Linked DNA regions of Homo sapiens: regions 2, 3, 4 and 5 are each linked to region 1. Evidence: promoter capture Hi-C in 16 types of primary human blood cells and fetal thymus (Javierre and others, 2016). All regions are on one chromosome and are shown on one strand. The core of a region is centred on a gene start or on the middle of the fragment in contact, and the rest is flanking DNA. Distances in the headings are between cores, read along the strand shown.

Evidence for each region. Contacts are between HindIII fragments. The CHiCAGO score rates a contact against its expected background, and 5 or more counts as called.
Region 2: a fragment that was not itself captured here is called in contact with the fragment with the promoter of PHIP in region 1 in 1 of 17 cell types (neutrophils); the score reaches 6.0 in neutrophils.
Region 3: the fragment with the promoter of RIPPLY2 here is called in contact with the fragment with the promoter of PHIP in region 1 in 1 of 17 cell types (total CD8 T cells); the score reaches 5.4 in total CD8 T cells.
Region 4: a contact is called between the fragment with the promoter of PGM3 here and the fragment with the promoter of PHIP in region 1, in 1 of 17 cell types (non-activated CD4 T cells). The highest score is 5.5, in non-activated CD4 T cells.
Region 5: a contact is called between a fragment that was not itself captured here and the fragment with the promoter of PHIP in region 1, in 1 of 17 cell types (total B cells). The highest score is 5.3, in total B cells.

What each region holds. Positions count from the first base shown.
Region 1 is chr6:79,076,937-79,079,659 of GRCh38, forward strand. It overlaps PHIP (PHIP subunit of CUL4-Ring ligase complex), which reads right to left and starts at 1,318. Exons shown (of 40, transcript NM_017934.7): 1 at 1,093-1,318; 2 at 919-977; 3 at 764-793; 4 at 512-571. The coding sequence starts at 1,132. LOC124901346 (a long non-coding RNA gene) reads left to right here. Exons shown (of 2, transcript XR_007059652.1): 2 at 1-330. RefSeq lists silencers at 37-536, 1,036-1,205, 1,336-1,575 and an enhancer at 1,696-1,745. The HindIII fragment of the contact is 4,735 bases long and covers 1-2,243 here.
Region 2 is chr6:83,870,003-83,872,725 of GRCh38, forward strand. The region is part of intron 4 of RIPPLY2-CYB5R4 (RIPPLY2-CYB5R4 readthrough); the gene reads left to right. The region is part of intron 2 of CYB5R4 (cytochrome b5 reductase 4); the gene reads left to right. Among named protein-coding and RNA genes, the nearest start is that of CYB5R4, 12 kb to the left of the region's middle. RefSeq lists a silencer at 688-982. The HindIII fragment of the contact is 2,014 bases long and covers 381-2,394 here.
Region 3 is chr6:83,851,944-83,854,666 of GRCh38, forward strand. RIPPLY2 (ripply transcriptional repressor 2) reads left to right here and starts at 1,417. Exons shown (of 4, transcript NM_001009994.3): 1 at 1,417-1,568; 2 at 1,752-1,830; 3 at 2,154-2,218. The coding sequence starts at 1,474. It overlaps RIPPLY2-CYB5R4 (RIPPLY2-CYB5R4 readthrough), which reads left to right and starts at 1,417. Exons shown (of 18, transcript NR_174604.1): 1 at 1,417-1,568; 2 at 1,752-1,830; 3 at 2,154-2,218. The HindIII fragment of the contact is 2,033 bases long and covers 158-2,190 here.
Region 4 is chr6:83,191,905-83,194,627 of GRCh38, forward strand. PGM3 (phosphoglucomutase 3) reads right to left here and starts at 1,361. Exons shown (of 13, transcript NM_015599.3): 1 at 1,275-1,361. It overlaps RWDD2A (RWD domain containing 2A), which reads left to right and starts at 1,453. Exons shown (of 3, transcript NM_033411.5): 1 at 1,453-1,539; 2 at 2,408-2,723. The coding sequence starts at 2,548. RefSeq lists silencers at 1,012-1,081, 1,382-1,751 and an enhancer at 1,324-1,823. The HindIII fragment of the contact is 15,181 bases long and covers 1-2,723 here.
Region 5 is chr6:83,062,241-83,064,963 of GRCh38, forward strand. All of the region lies in intron 1 of UBE3D (ubiquitin protein ligase E3D), which reads right to left. Among named protein-coding and RNA genes, the nearest start is that of UBE3D, 2.2 kb to the right of the region's middle. The HindIII fragment of the contact is 3,859 bases long and covers 1-2,723 here.

The DNA of each region.
Region 1 (2,723 bases), core at 68-2,567:
TGTCTTGCCACGGTACCGCAGCGGCTGGATAGCCTGCTTGTGAAATGCTAATGCCACTTCGGAGCAGTTAGTCACCAGCTATTGTGTAGGGCAGGAGAAAGCCGAGCCGGCCGCGCGTGCAGAGCGAGCAAGCGAACGAGCGAGCGCGCTCTCCCTCTTCGCGCCGCTCCCGCCGCCGCCGACTCTCGCGCGCCCCCGCGCCCGCACGGACGCGCGCGCCGGCCCCTCCTCCTCCGGCCTTGCACTGCACAACACTCATGACGTATCTTTATTTCTAGCACATTAACAAAATATCACAAATAAATTGTCCGCAGCCCCTGCGGCCCCGAAGTACGAGTACCCCCGGCCACTGGCCCCCGCAGACCCCGCGCCGGCCTCCCAACCCTCCCCATGGCCTTTGGAGCTTTCACGTTCTAGGGCCAAGTTTTTGTCTCTGTAAAAAATTGCGGGAAATTCAATTTTTATTCGACTCAGGGAAAAGTTTCTTTGCTCTGCGACGTGAATGTCTCACCAGATTCTGGTAGGTCCTGGGATGCTCCTTCCCGGTCCAGTCGGTGCGCCGGGGCAGCAGCTGCGGGGAGAGGACACCCCGTGAGCCCGGCCCCCGGCCCCTACCCGCCCGCTCCCCTCCCCCGCCCGCCCCGCGCCCCGGCGGGGACCCCGAGCCCCGCGCCCCGCGCCCTGCCGGCGGCGGCAGCGGCGGCGCAGCGGCCCAGAGGCGGCCGCGCGGCGGCGGGACGCGCCGGGCCGCCGCCGCCCTTACCTCCTTCTCGGCCACCTCGCGGATCAGCACCTGCAACAACAAAGCGGGGAGAGCTGAGCCCCGCGCCCCGGGCCGCGGCCCCGCCGCCGCCGCCTCCCTCCCCCACGCCCGCGAGCGGCGAGCGCCGGCCCGGCCCGCGCCGCGCGCCGCCGTACCTGAGCCGCCTGCTGACAGGGTCCATCTTCCAGGAACCGGGCGATGAGGAAGTAGAGCTCTGCGCGGGAGAGAGGGACGGGGAGACACACAGGCTGAGCGGTCGGGCGGCGGGGGGCGGGGGACCGCGGGCGGAATCGCCCGGTGCCAGCGGCCCCGGCAGCCCCCCGACTTACCCGATCGCAGCTCCGAGAGGCCTTTCCTCTCACAAGACATGTTTATGGGTCACTTCAGGGCCGCCGACGGGACACCCCGCCGCCGAGGGGAAGCGGGGACGGTGCCGCCGCCTGCCCTATAGCTGTCAGTGTGTGTTCACGAGCCGAGCTTCGGCTCCACCATTCAAGCAACGGCGGCGGAGGCGGAGGAGGAGGAGGAGGAAACAACAACTCTCAGGCAGCGACTACGGCCGTGGCCGCCTCCGCCGCGGATCCCTCCGCCGCAGAAAGGAGTCCGCCGCCTTCGCGGCCCAGGGCTCGGCCCCGGCTCTGGCCCGCGCCCCCGCCCCCCGGCGCTAAAAAAGGAGTGCCTCCGACCCCTCGTCCCCAGCGCTCCGCACGCGGCACAGTGAGACCCCCACCCGCTCCTCCCCGCAGGGCGTGCGATTTATTTATTTATTTCCAGTCGGAGAAGATGTCGGAGCCCAAGCCGCCGGTTGGCTGGAAGGCGCTTTCTCTGTGGAGGCCGATAGTGGCAGGGAGGGGGCCGGGGACGGTTCCGCGGAGGGATCTGACGCACACGGAGCCGCAGCACAGGCTCTATTCAGCGGCGCTGGCTGGAGCTGAGATGGAAGTTAGTTTCTATGTAGCAGAAATATGAAACAAATGAAGCAAAACTGCCCAGAGAGGGGAAATGCCCCAAGGATGGGTCTCACTCACGCGCGTACACAGACACACACGCAGAGAGCACTCTCACGCTGGGCAAGCTCGGGATCGCGCTACCCTTCCCGAGTTGAATGATAGTGTTTGGTTTCTGTCTCTTGCCATGTGCATGTGTATAAATGCTGCGGATTGGCATCTGTGTAAGTCTTGTCCTGCGTTATTTCTGCAGCCTATGCAAGTGTTGTGTAATTTATTGGAGTGCTGTATATTGCAATAGAGGTTTGGGCTGCTTTTTGTTAAGCACTTGCGTTTTGCAAACCCGTTATTTGCTGAAGCCACCTCTGCATATTTCTTTTATTACTGCCATTGCCTTTGGCGTACGTTTTTTAAATGTTTTTTATTGTTAAACGGGCAAAGCGAACTCTTGATTTGTACTTCAGATACTCTTTTTCCTTATTACAAAAAGGCTAGTGATGGCTAATTAGGTATTTGGAATTAAAGAACCTTAAAGCTTTTTTAAGTGTTTACGAGAAGGGAGAATGTAAACCTGAGGGAAAGGAAAGGACGCTAATATTCATGTCTAACTGATCTGGAGGTAATTTAGTGACAGATCGATAACCTGCCTAAGGATATTGAAAGAGTATACTACAGTTTAGCCAAGGTGAATAGTGATTAAATAATTTAAATAATCTGTGTATCTTGCAGTTGACTTCGTCATGCTAATTAATGGCTTCTAATTTGAGATGTAAACCATTCCTGTTTACAGTTAATCACGGGAAGACTTCTTGAAAACTGACGAAAAGGAGAAAAAAAAATCTTTCGTAAATTAGTATGTAATTACCGATTTTATATGCTAAATCATACATCTGTGTTTTGCTGATGAGGATAAGGGCCTTGTTTTTAAAAAAACGAATATGGGTGAAATTAATGGAAACAATAGAAAAAGCCATTTGTTAGAAAACAAGGACACCAAATGATATTTATCTCCA
Region 2 (2,723 bases), core at 138-2,637, 4.8 Mb after region 1:
GACCTGAGTTATAGTGAGTTACAGCTGTTGTCTGTGAGTTCAATGTTCATGAATCAACAATATATATTAAAGAAGGTGTCTTTAAACAGCAACACACATTAAACAAGTTTATGTATTGATTGGTTGACAAACATGTTGTCATTATAGGCTCATAGGAACCCAACTTTGTATTTTTTACTAGTAGCAATGGGTCAGTATTCGCTAATTCAGTGTTTGCAGCATACAGGAACCCAACTTTGTGTTTTTTCCAAGGAGCAATGGGTCAGTATTTACTAATTCAGTGTTTGCAGCAATTTTATGGAAATGATTGCTATGAACAAGGATAACCAACTATATTTCTTTAGATTATCTTTTATTTATACTTCAGTAATGATAACGAAAGCTTTGTACTTTTTGGGTTAAATTCAGACCCACCAAAAATAGAGCTGATTTATCTAACCGTTTTTTTTTTTTTCCTAGGTTTCCTTAGCTCCTTGGTTCATTTCTGTTTTCAGAAACTGCAGTGTTATTTGTCCATAGCAGGGAAATTTTTCTACCTGCTCTTTTAGGAGCAGTTTTTCAAATTTGGAACTAATGTTTTAATTTGTAATAGAACATATTAACCCAGTAATATACTATCTAAATAATAATATATTATTATTACAGTTAGTTCAACCATTCTGTAGTTTACTTTGTGTACTATCATCATTACTTTCTTGGCAGATTTTTGAACAACTCTCTTCTTCCATTTTCTTGTTTAGGTTAGATTAAAACCCACTGTATTTGTAACCTCAAACTCAGTACTCACAGTGCTTTTAGACATTCAAAGACACGCAGAGAGCAGTGAAAAAATCTTTGTTGCCCAACATGCAGGTTCCTAGCTGAGGTCAAAGAAGGCAGTGTTCTCCCTTGAATACAAATCAACAATGTTCTGCCTGGAAGAAAATCAACATTATTTTAGTGGTACATGTCCCTTCTTTCATTGTTTGCTTTTTTTTTTTTTTTTTTTTTTGCGATGGAGTTTCACTCTTGTCACCCAGGCTGGAGTGCAATGGCACGATCTCGGCTCACTGCAACCTCCGTCTCCCGGGTTCAAGCGAGTCTCCTGCCCCAGCCTCTTGAGTAGCTGGGATTATAGGCGCCTGCAGCCATGCCCGGCTAATTTTTTTGTATTTTTAGTAGAGATGGGGGTTTCACCATGTTGGCCAGGCTGGTCTGGAACTCCTGATCGCAGGTGATCCACAGCCTTGGCCTCCCAGACTGCTGGGATTACAGGTGTGAGCCACCACACCTGGCCTGTTCATTGAATTCTAACCTAACCCATAGATTTTTCAAGTTGCCTTATTTCACATGATTATGCAAATAATCTAGTCTTTGTCGATTGTATTAATTCCTGTCTTACTAACATCTAAGATTATTTGCTTTCTCTTACTTTTACCCTGTCTTTATCTCCTAAATTGTCATTCACTCTTTTCCTTCTCCTCCTTTTTTTCACTTTTTCTCTCTCTGTACTTCTCTCCCATTCATTAAAAATTTAGTGGAGAGGAAAAACTGCTGATCTGAGGGCCTTATCTAACCCTCAGGTGTTCTGTTTGGTTGACACAGTGGTTTAGAAATTGCAGCCAACATTCTGAAATTTTCTTTGTGGGAAAGTTTTTCTTTTTTATTACAAATTTAATTTTAAAAAAGGATATAGGGCTATTTAAATTTTCTCTTTACTTTTGTGTCAGTTTTAGTTGTGTTTTTCAATGAATTCATTAATTTTATCTCATTTAATATATTGGCATATAGTTATTTGTAATATTCCCTTTTTATTTCTTTAATGTCTTTAAGTTCTATGATATACCCTATATATCCTTTTTCATTCCTGGTGTTGCTAATTTTTTCTCTCTTTTTTTTCTTGATCAGTCTTACTAGAAGTTTATCAATTTTATTAACATTTTGAATAAACTAATTTTGGTTTGTATTTTCTCTGTTGCTTCTTTTCTGTTACATTGTTTGTTGTTTCATTACTTGTTGTTTTCTATTTTGTTACTTTTATTAGTGATATAGCTAGTTTAAGATTTTTTTTCTTCAGCATTTGCATCCTTATATTTCTAGAGATAGTCTGCAGTAACTCTCATTATATTCCTGGTTATTGCCTGAATTACTTGATAGTGGCAATTTTTACTCCTATTTATGGTTTGGCTGTTGCCATTATCTTTTTGCACATTCAGATGTATTACCCAGTCACATAATTCTCAGGTTTAAATTAAAACCTCATATATAGTTAAATATTCTTTTTAGAAAGTGCTTCCTTTTTTTAAGTACCCTAGCAGGGTTATTGATGTGTCAGTTATATGCTATGTGCTAAGTGTTAATTTTCACAACAGACCAATGAGGTAGGTCCTCCATTTCACAGATTGAGGGTACTGAAGCTTAGAGAATCCGCATTTACCAAATAAGAAAACTGAAGCTGATAAAATCTATTAGTGGGGAGTCATAGATGTAAATGATAGAAAACTATTTTGGCTTAAGCAGAAGCAAAAAGTTACTAAAAAGTTAGAGGTGAGGATTGATGCAGGGGCTCAGACCAAGTCCCCAGGACCTGCTTTCACATTATCTTTTGGTTTCCCTTCTGAGATCACTGTGTTTTAGGATTAACGCTAAGTTCATAGCCTGAAGATGATCACAGAAACTTCAACCCTAGTTATTTTCTAGTTCTGTTCTGTTTCTCTAATAGCTGAGATAAAGGTCTTAGATTT
Region 3 (2,723 bases), core at 167-2,666, 4.8 Mb after region 1:
TCTTCCACAATGATTTAACTAGTTTACATTATGGAACTGAAATAATAAGCCATTTTATCAGAAAGGTTAACATCTGTTAAGGCCTTATATTTTTTTACGTAGCTTAAAATCTGTTGAAGGCTTACTATATGCCAGGCACTGCAAAACGCATTTTATAAGCTTTATTTTATTTAGCCTAACAATAACTGTAGGGGATGCAGACATGCATTAGGTATCTATCCTTACTGATTTTCTTATCAGAAGCAACCCAAATCTCACCTTCCTGGCAGGTAGATCATTATAGGCTCTTAGCTACTATTAATAATTAAATTATTTTCCTATGCAGTAGCTGAATGAATAGCAGAGACAACTATAGTTTACAATCAAGATTTTTGTCTAAACTTTTAAGAGAAAGTCCAGTTTTATTATTTAAAACATTTTGAAAAAAATTATAACATTTATATATCATCTTTTCCTCGATGCATAACACTTTTTACAAAGTTTAGTGGTAGATAAGTGAGGGGTAACTCAAATCAGAGAAACAGGGGTGCAGACGTTTGATTAACTTGTCTCATATCATAACTTTTCAAGATTTCATTATCATTCCACAACACTGCCCTCAAAAAAGAATTTTGTAATTACCATTGAGTGACAAAATACCAAGTAGTGACAGAGGTGTATAGACGAACTCAAAAGTTATTGTAGGAGGACACTGATAAAATGTTGGGGAAAATCACAAAAGACACGAGAAGATAATTTAGAGCTCTATGCCCAAATCACATGACTCCAGTCTCTGGCTCTCTTAGCCAGAACAGCGAATCTTTTACAATTTACCTCTTGTTGCCAATAATTTTCTATTATCTTCAAATAATAATAGGCTGGAGTATGAACCTAGTTTATCAATACTTTTTTAAAAAACCGACATTCCTCTCTTAAGGAGTCCATGCATTCTCCCCATTTTTTAGAAAATTGTTCCATGAAGAGGAATTAAGTTTATTCCTTTGAATTCTAGTCTGCATCCCAGCTTTTAGAACACGGGATGCAGAACCAGTTGATTTGCCACAGGCCAAGTCCTGAGTCTCCAGCGAATCAAGCAATTAACCAGTCACTTGGCCTTTTTGCAGAAATCCACAAAACGTGTAGACTCGCTTAATTCCATCTCCTCCTGGCCTCTTCACACGGAAATTGGCTGCTCGGGCGAATGTTGTTTTTCTCCGCAGCCATGTGTCGAAGGGCGATTAACATTCGCTCGACAAAACCCTGTCCCGGGCCATTTGGGAGTTGCACGCGTTCACACCCGGGGCTCAGCCCGGTGCGCCTTCACGCGCAGCCTTTTTGTTTATGCGGCTAGCAGGGAGAGGGGCGGAGAGGCAGCGAACCTCTCAATGTGCAGCAGGCCGCGAGGGCTATATAAAGCTCGGGTCTCGGACCTACTGGAACTGGTCAAGATTGCCCGCGAGCTGGCAGCGGCCTTCCGCCCAGCTCTGCGGCGTCATGGAGAACGCGGGAGGCGCAGAGGGTACAGAGAGTGGAGCTGCGGCGTGCGCGGCCACCGACGGCCCTACGCGGCGCGCGGGCGCGGACTCCGGGTAGGCTTCCCCGCGCTGCTCTGCGCCTCCCAGCTTCCCCCGTCTCTCCCTCCTGCGCCTCCCCAGCTCCTCCCCTCCAACTCTCCATCCCCCACTGCCCGGTGCCAGCGCTCGGCTTCGGTGGATTCTCCCGGGTCTGGGCTCACGTCTCCTCTGCGCGCCTTGTGCTCCCCTATCCCGCAGATACGCAGGCTTCTGGAGACCCTGGGTGGACGCCGGAGGCAAGAAAGAAGAGGAGACGCCGAACCACGCCGCGGAGGCGGTGAGTGAGCCACGCGTCTCAGGCCGCGCCTCCCACGGGTGCAGAAGATCGACCAGGGCTCTCGGGACGCAGGGCCTGAGAGAGACATGCGAGACACCGGGTCCTGCCTCTCGCTTAACATCCCGCCTGCCGGTGGCCATAAAGGTGCCGACGCGGCGGATGTGTCCTCTGGAGCGATGGGCCACAGGCACCCAGCCGGGAGCGAGGCTGCTGAGAGCCCTGGGGTTACATTCCCAGCGGGCACGAGGAACACTGGGTCGTGCACGTTTCCACTTTCTAGAAGGAGGTGGGTGATAACTGGATTCACTTCCTTTCCTCTCCAGATGCCCGATGGCCCTGGAATGACCGCAGCCTCAGGAAAGCTTTACCAATTCAGGCACCCAGTCAGGTGAGTGACAGGCCTCGCCGAAGGTCTCCCGCTCCTCCAGCCCCAGGGAGGAGCCAGGGGCATCGCGCAGCCCAGCTCCGCAGCTGGTCCTGCAGTCTCTCTCTCTCTCTCTGAAAATCTGGCTTCAAGGTTACTTATCTTCTCACTCATCAAATTGAAAAAGGTAGGGGCTCACGGTCCCACGTAAAGGGACTGTTGATGAATACATACTCAGTGAACTTGATGAATATATTACGAAGAGGGAAAGGGGATGATATGGTAAGAGAGCGGTGACATCTTGTGCTGGCAAAACAGTTTTTATTTTTAAATCCTAAAGGGTTCGAATGAAATTGACTTCGCATCAGGCAGAGTGTGTATGCTGCTTTTGTCTTGCAATCTGGAAGGAAGAATGGGATTAACAGTTACAGTCTTACAAGTTTGCCGAGTAGGAAAAAATAGAAATGTAATGAAAATCCTAAAGATTATTGAGAATGGTTATAGAAAGGGTCAAAAGTTTATTTAACTT
Region 4 (2,723 bases), core at 111-2,610, 4.1 Mb after region 1:
GCCGAGATCGCGCCACTGCACTCCAGCCTGGGTGACAAAGGGAGACTCGGTCTCAAAAAAAAAAAAAAAAAAAAAAAACAGGCCAGGTGAGGTGGCTCAGGCCTGTAATCCCGGCATTTTGGGAGGCCAAGGCGGGCGGATCACGAGGTCAGGAATTCAAGACCAGCCTGACCAACATGGTGAGACCCTTGTCTCTACTAAAAATACAAAAAGTAGCCTGGCGTGGTGGTGCGCGCCTGTAGTCCCAGCTACTCAGGAGGCTGACGCAGGAGAATCGCTTGAACCCGCGGGTGGAGGTCGCAGTGAGCCGAGATCGCGCCACTGCACTCCAGGCTGGGCGACAGGGTGAGACTCCGTCTCAAAACAAACAACAACAAAAAATCGGCCCTTAGCCCACTAATACTGTTTTCTCTGGGATACTCCCATTAAGTGGAACTTGGGGTTTCCAACCTCAGTCAGTAGTTTTCCTTCAGTAGTCCATATACTACATTTCCTGGGTCAATTAATTCCCAATTAGCCCAGAGATGAGGAGCAGTCCGCCAGCTGCTAGCCTCATAATTTTGTTTTCTTTATTGTCCTTCATTGCTTCAATGAACAGAACTTGCAAGAAATGGTGAAAAATACTTGCTTTTGTCCAGTTGGAAAAAGCTGGCATTCAGTAAACTAATTTAGTTCAAGACAGTGATCAGATCTCTTTCCTAAGGATGAATACATATTTGTAAAAACTGAGCAGTCAGTTATGTGTCATGATTATTCATAAGAGTGTAAACCAGTCCTGTTAACTCCAAAAAGCCATTAAAAAAAAAAAGGTCCAGATAATATGAGTTCATCCTTTCATGCGTTTTAGGCCCTACAACTACTTTCAATGCCTCTGCGAATGCCTTTATTGAAAGCATATTTGCCAAATCCAGCGTCCACGCAAAAAGTTAAGAGTATCCCCCTACTCTCCATTCAATCTTCAAATCTCCTTGGTGCCTCTCTCCCGCCTACCCTCGAATCACCGCACAAGGGTGATTCCCGGCACTCCACCCTGAGGTCCCCGCCTAGGTCCACGTACCAGAGCCCCGGCAGGAGACCCGCGGCCCGTCCCGACCAGCCCGCCCGCGGGGCGCAGGGGCCTGTAGGTGTGTCCCGCGCGCTCCGCCGCTCGGTCAGTCGCCCGCCAGACCACTAGCCCCTCCGTCGGGCCGAGAATCTGACCTGTCCCGCTCCCACCGAGCCCTTGCCGACCGGTAGTCTCCCTTCTCAACTCCGAGCCTCGGGGCCCGGCTTACCTCGGTCAGGAAGCCCCCTTCACCTACACGCAGCGGAGAAGCGCCCAAGCAACAACGTCTGCACCCAAACCCAGTCCTCAGAACCGCAGACGTGGCCCTGCGTGGCTTCCGGCTCGTCGCCACGCCCCCTGGCCAATCACGGCAGAGGACTATCCGCCAGCCCCGCCCCCGCCTCGCCGCAGGTCGCGCGCAGCTGGCGCCTGAGGAACTGCGGCTGCGGTTCCGAGCGGGGTCTGGGGCTGTTACCATTGAGTGACCAGAAAGGGTGAGGCCCCCGCGGTGGCCCGGGGGTTGGGGCCGAGGGTCGCGGGCCCTCAGAGCACTGCGGCCGCGGAGGCACAGCCTCCGCCTCCAAATCCGGGCCTCTGGGGGCGGCAGGCCCTGCGTTCCTGGGAAGCCGGGGTTCCTAGTGGTCTTGGCTAGGGGCGGGGGTGGGGAATCAGCCCCGTCGCTGGGCCTCGGACAGGGCGACCTCGCCCACAGTGAGCGCCGCCGGCGGCCCGCATCCCCCTCTCCGACGTCGAGGTCATCTCCCAAACCTTTGAATCTGGGAAGCCTTCTCCGGCTGCCGTCTCCCCGGGTACCCCCTTCCCCCAGCTCACTGTAAACATCTTTTATTTAATGACCTCTGAGACACCCCCTACCCTTATCCTGGGTCCCTCGGGGCAGAGGCCAGTGAATCGTAAACGTCCGGAGCCCTGGAATGCGGCCCAAGCGAAAAGGCCACCGCGGTGTTGGGGGGGGGCGGTCCGCGAGTCCAGGACCGAGGGGTGGCGACTGGCGCTGGGGAACTCGGAGCCCATCCTGCTGGCACTGCGGCCTCTCTCGCCGCAGCGTCTGGCTCCGCCCAAGCCCGAGCCCCGGGTGGGATTGGAAGCCGGGCCCCAGCCTTTCCCAGAATTCAGGCTTGCAGAGCGTCTGCAGGTGTCTGCCTGCCACCTGCAGCGGGACAGTTCCAAACACCTGTTGAAAGTGCAGATTCCCCTATCTAGTGCGGGGTGCGGGAGGCGGGAACCCGGAGCCCGGGTACGCAGAATATGGGTTTTTACGGAGTGTTTTAGAGGATGTTGTGCATACTAGATTTTGGAGTCAGGAAATAAAGAAGAGTGCAAGTGTCTGGTTTGTGCCCCTAGCTCTCGGTGCAAAGCGTTCCTGCAGAATTGCTTCCACGTAAAGGGACCTTCGGGAAATTTCGCTGGATACCGGCTGGCATTGACAAACCCAGCGTCCCTGAGCCTTGTGAGGTTTCCAGGCAGGCTGATTGCGAGGCAACATGTCTGCTTCGGTGAAAGAAAGCCTTCAGCTTCAGCTACTGGAGATGGAAATGCTGTTTTCTATGTTTCCTAACCAAGGAGAAGTAAAACTTGAAGATGTAAATGCCCTGACGAATATAAAGAGGTATTTGGAAGGCACAAGGGAGGCGCTGCCACCAAAAATCGAATTTGTAAT
Region 5 (2,723 bases), core at 77-2,576, 4.0 Mb after region 1:
TCTGTGGATTGAATAAATGAATGGCCAAAGTTTATCCCAAAATGCTAAGATATCTTAATATAAATAGATCTTTACATCTGTGAATGTAAACTTTGGAAGCCAGACTCTTTTTCACAACCCACTATGGCAGGAATTAATCCATTCCTGAGAGAGAACTCACCCAACCATCTCCATGGGAGGGCATTAATCTATTCAAGAAGAATCTGCCCTCAGGAACCACGCACCTCCCACTAGGCCCTATGTCTCAACACTGCCACATTGGGGATCAAAGTGAGAAAACATAGGGACAAAACACATCCAAACCATAGCAGTTAGGAACAAGAACACCAATATTTAAATTAACTATAAAATATACTAAACATTTTAATTAGAACACACAGATCATCAGAACAGATTTAAAATCACCCAACTATATATTTTTAAAACTAGCATACAGTTTTATGCTATTTTTAGGGAAATACAGTATTTTTACAGCTTTTTGCTTTATACAGAAAGACATAAGAAAGGTTAAAAAGGTAGAAAGGACACACTATGCAAACAGTATAGTCAACTGATTTCTCATGAAGACTGAGTTATTTTAATGGGAGAAATGATGGCCTTTTCAACTGATGGTGATAGAATAAATGAATATCCTTATACCAAAAAAAGAACTTTGATCCCTACTTCACTGCAAACACAAAAATGAATTCAACATGATCACAGATCAAAATGTGAAAGCTAAAACGATATAACTCCTAGAAAATAAACCTGCCAAAACATCTTCACAGCCTTAAGGTAGGCAAAGATTTAAGACACCAAAAAAACTAACCCTTAAGGAATAAAAAAACGATAGAGTGGACTTCATTAAAATTAAAATTTCTGTTCATCAAAGGACACTATCAAAAAAACGAGGCAGGGCATGGTGGCTCATACCTGTAATCCCAGCACTTTGGGAGTCCAAAGTGGGTGGATCGCTTGAGTCCAGGAGTTCAAGACCAGCATGGGCAATATGGTGAAACCCTATCTCTACAAAAAAATACAAAAATTAGCTGGGCATGGTGGCATGCAACTTGTATCCCAGCTACTCCAGAGGCTGAGGTGGGAGGATTGCTTGAGCCCAGGAGGTTGAGGCTGCAGTGAGCCATGATCACACCACTGCACTGTAGCCTGGGCAGTAGAGCAAGACGCTGTCTAAAAAAAAAAAAAAAAAAAAAAAAAGAAAAGAAAATGAAAAGTTAAGTCACAGATAAGAATAGTCATATATTCACAAGGCATTTATGTGAGAAAGCTCTTGTTTTGAGACAGTATAAAGAACTCTCAATTAAACAAGACAAATAATCTGATTATGGGCAAAAAAAATTAGAAGATACTTTTAAAAAGAACATATATGAATTGCTAAAAAGCAAGTGAAAAGGCACTCAACATTATTAGTCATCGGTAAAATGAAAATTAAAACCACAAGATACTATTTTACACACACTAGAATGGTTCAAACTAAAAGGACTGATAATACTAAATGTAAGTCAAAATGTAAAGTAGTTGAAACTCATTTTTTTTCTGGTTGAACGTGCAAACTGGTACAATCACTTTGGAGAACTGTTTGGCAATTTCTCACAAAGTAACATGCACATCTATCCTATGACCCAGAAATTTCACTCTTAGGTACTTACCTAAAAAGAAATGAAAATGTATGTCCAAAAAAAGATTTATACAACAGTGTTATGACAGCTGTATTCATAATAAGCAAACTCCAGAAACAAGAAAAACATCCAGCAATAGGAGAACAGATAAATGAATTGTGGTATATTCATACAATGGAAAACTTAGCAAGAAAAAGGAATGGACTACTGATATATGCAGCCACATAGATGGAACGTGAATCTGAAAAATATTATGGAAGGAATGCAGCCAGAAACAAAAAAGTATATATTGTATGAATCCATTTATAAGTAGTTCAAGAAATGGCAAAACTAAGTCCAGCAAAGTTAGGTTTCTTTTTTTTTCTTTTTATTTTTTATTTTTTGAGACGGAGTCTCTTTCTGTTGCCAGGCTGAACTGCAGTGGCGCGATCTCAGCTCACTGCAACCTCCGCCTCCCGGGTTCACTCCATTCTCCTGCCTCAGCCTCCTGAGTAGCTGGGACTGACTAAAGGTGCGCGCCACCACACCCAGCTAATTTTTGTATTTTTAGTAGAGACAGGGTTTCACCATGTTGGCCAGGATGGTCTTGATCTCTTGACCTCGTGATCCGCCCGCCTCAGCCTCCCAATGTGCTGGGATTACAGGCATGAGCCACCCGGGTACCTTGCCTAAACAAAGGAGAGTAGTCCAAGGGAACTGTGAAAGGCCCCTGCATGAGAGGAAGGGAGGGTTTGTTGTGTGTGTGTGGTTTTTGTTTTATTTTGGTAGGGTTTGGGTTCCTAATTACTCTACAAGGTGCACCAGAATTGGAGATATTTGTCCAAATTCATAAATTTTGAAAGAGAAAAAGAAATACATTCAGAGTACTATTATTCCCATTTCAAGATTGAAGAAATTCAGATTAAATTATTCTAATTTCGTGAGGAAGCTAGCATTTGAACTCAGTTCTCACGCCATATTCCAAATTGCCACACCAGATATCTGGCAGATTTAGGGAAGAGGAAAAAATTAAGCATCAATCTACCTGTGGCACCGTGTAATACCATTCTCAGGATTTTAACTTCTAACTTACTCTCTTTGAAACAGCGATCACAAAGGAATAGA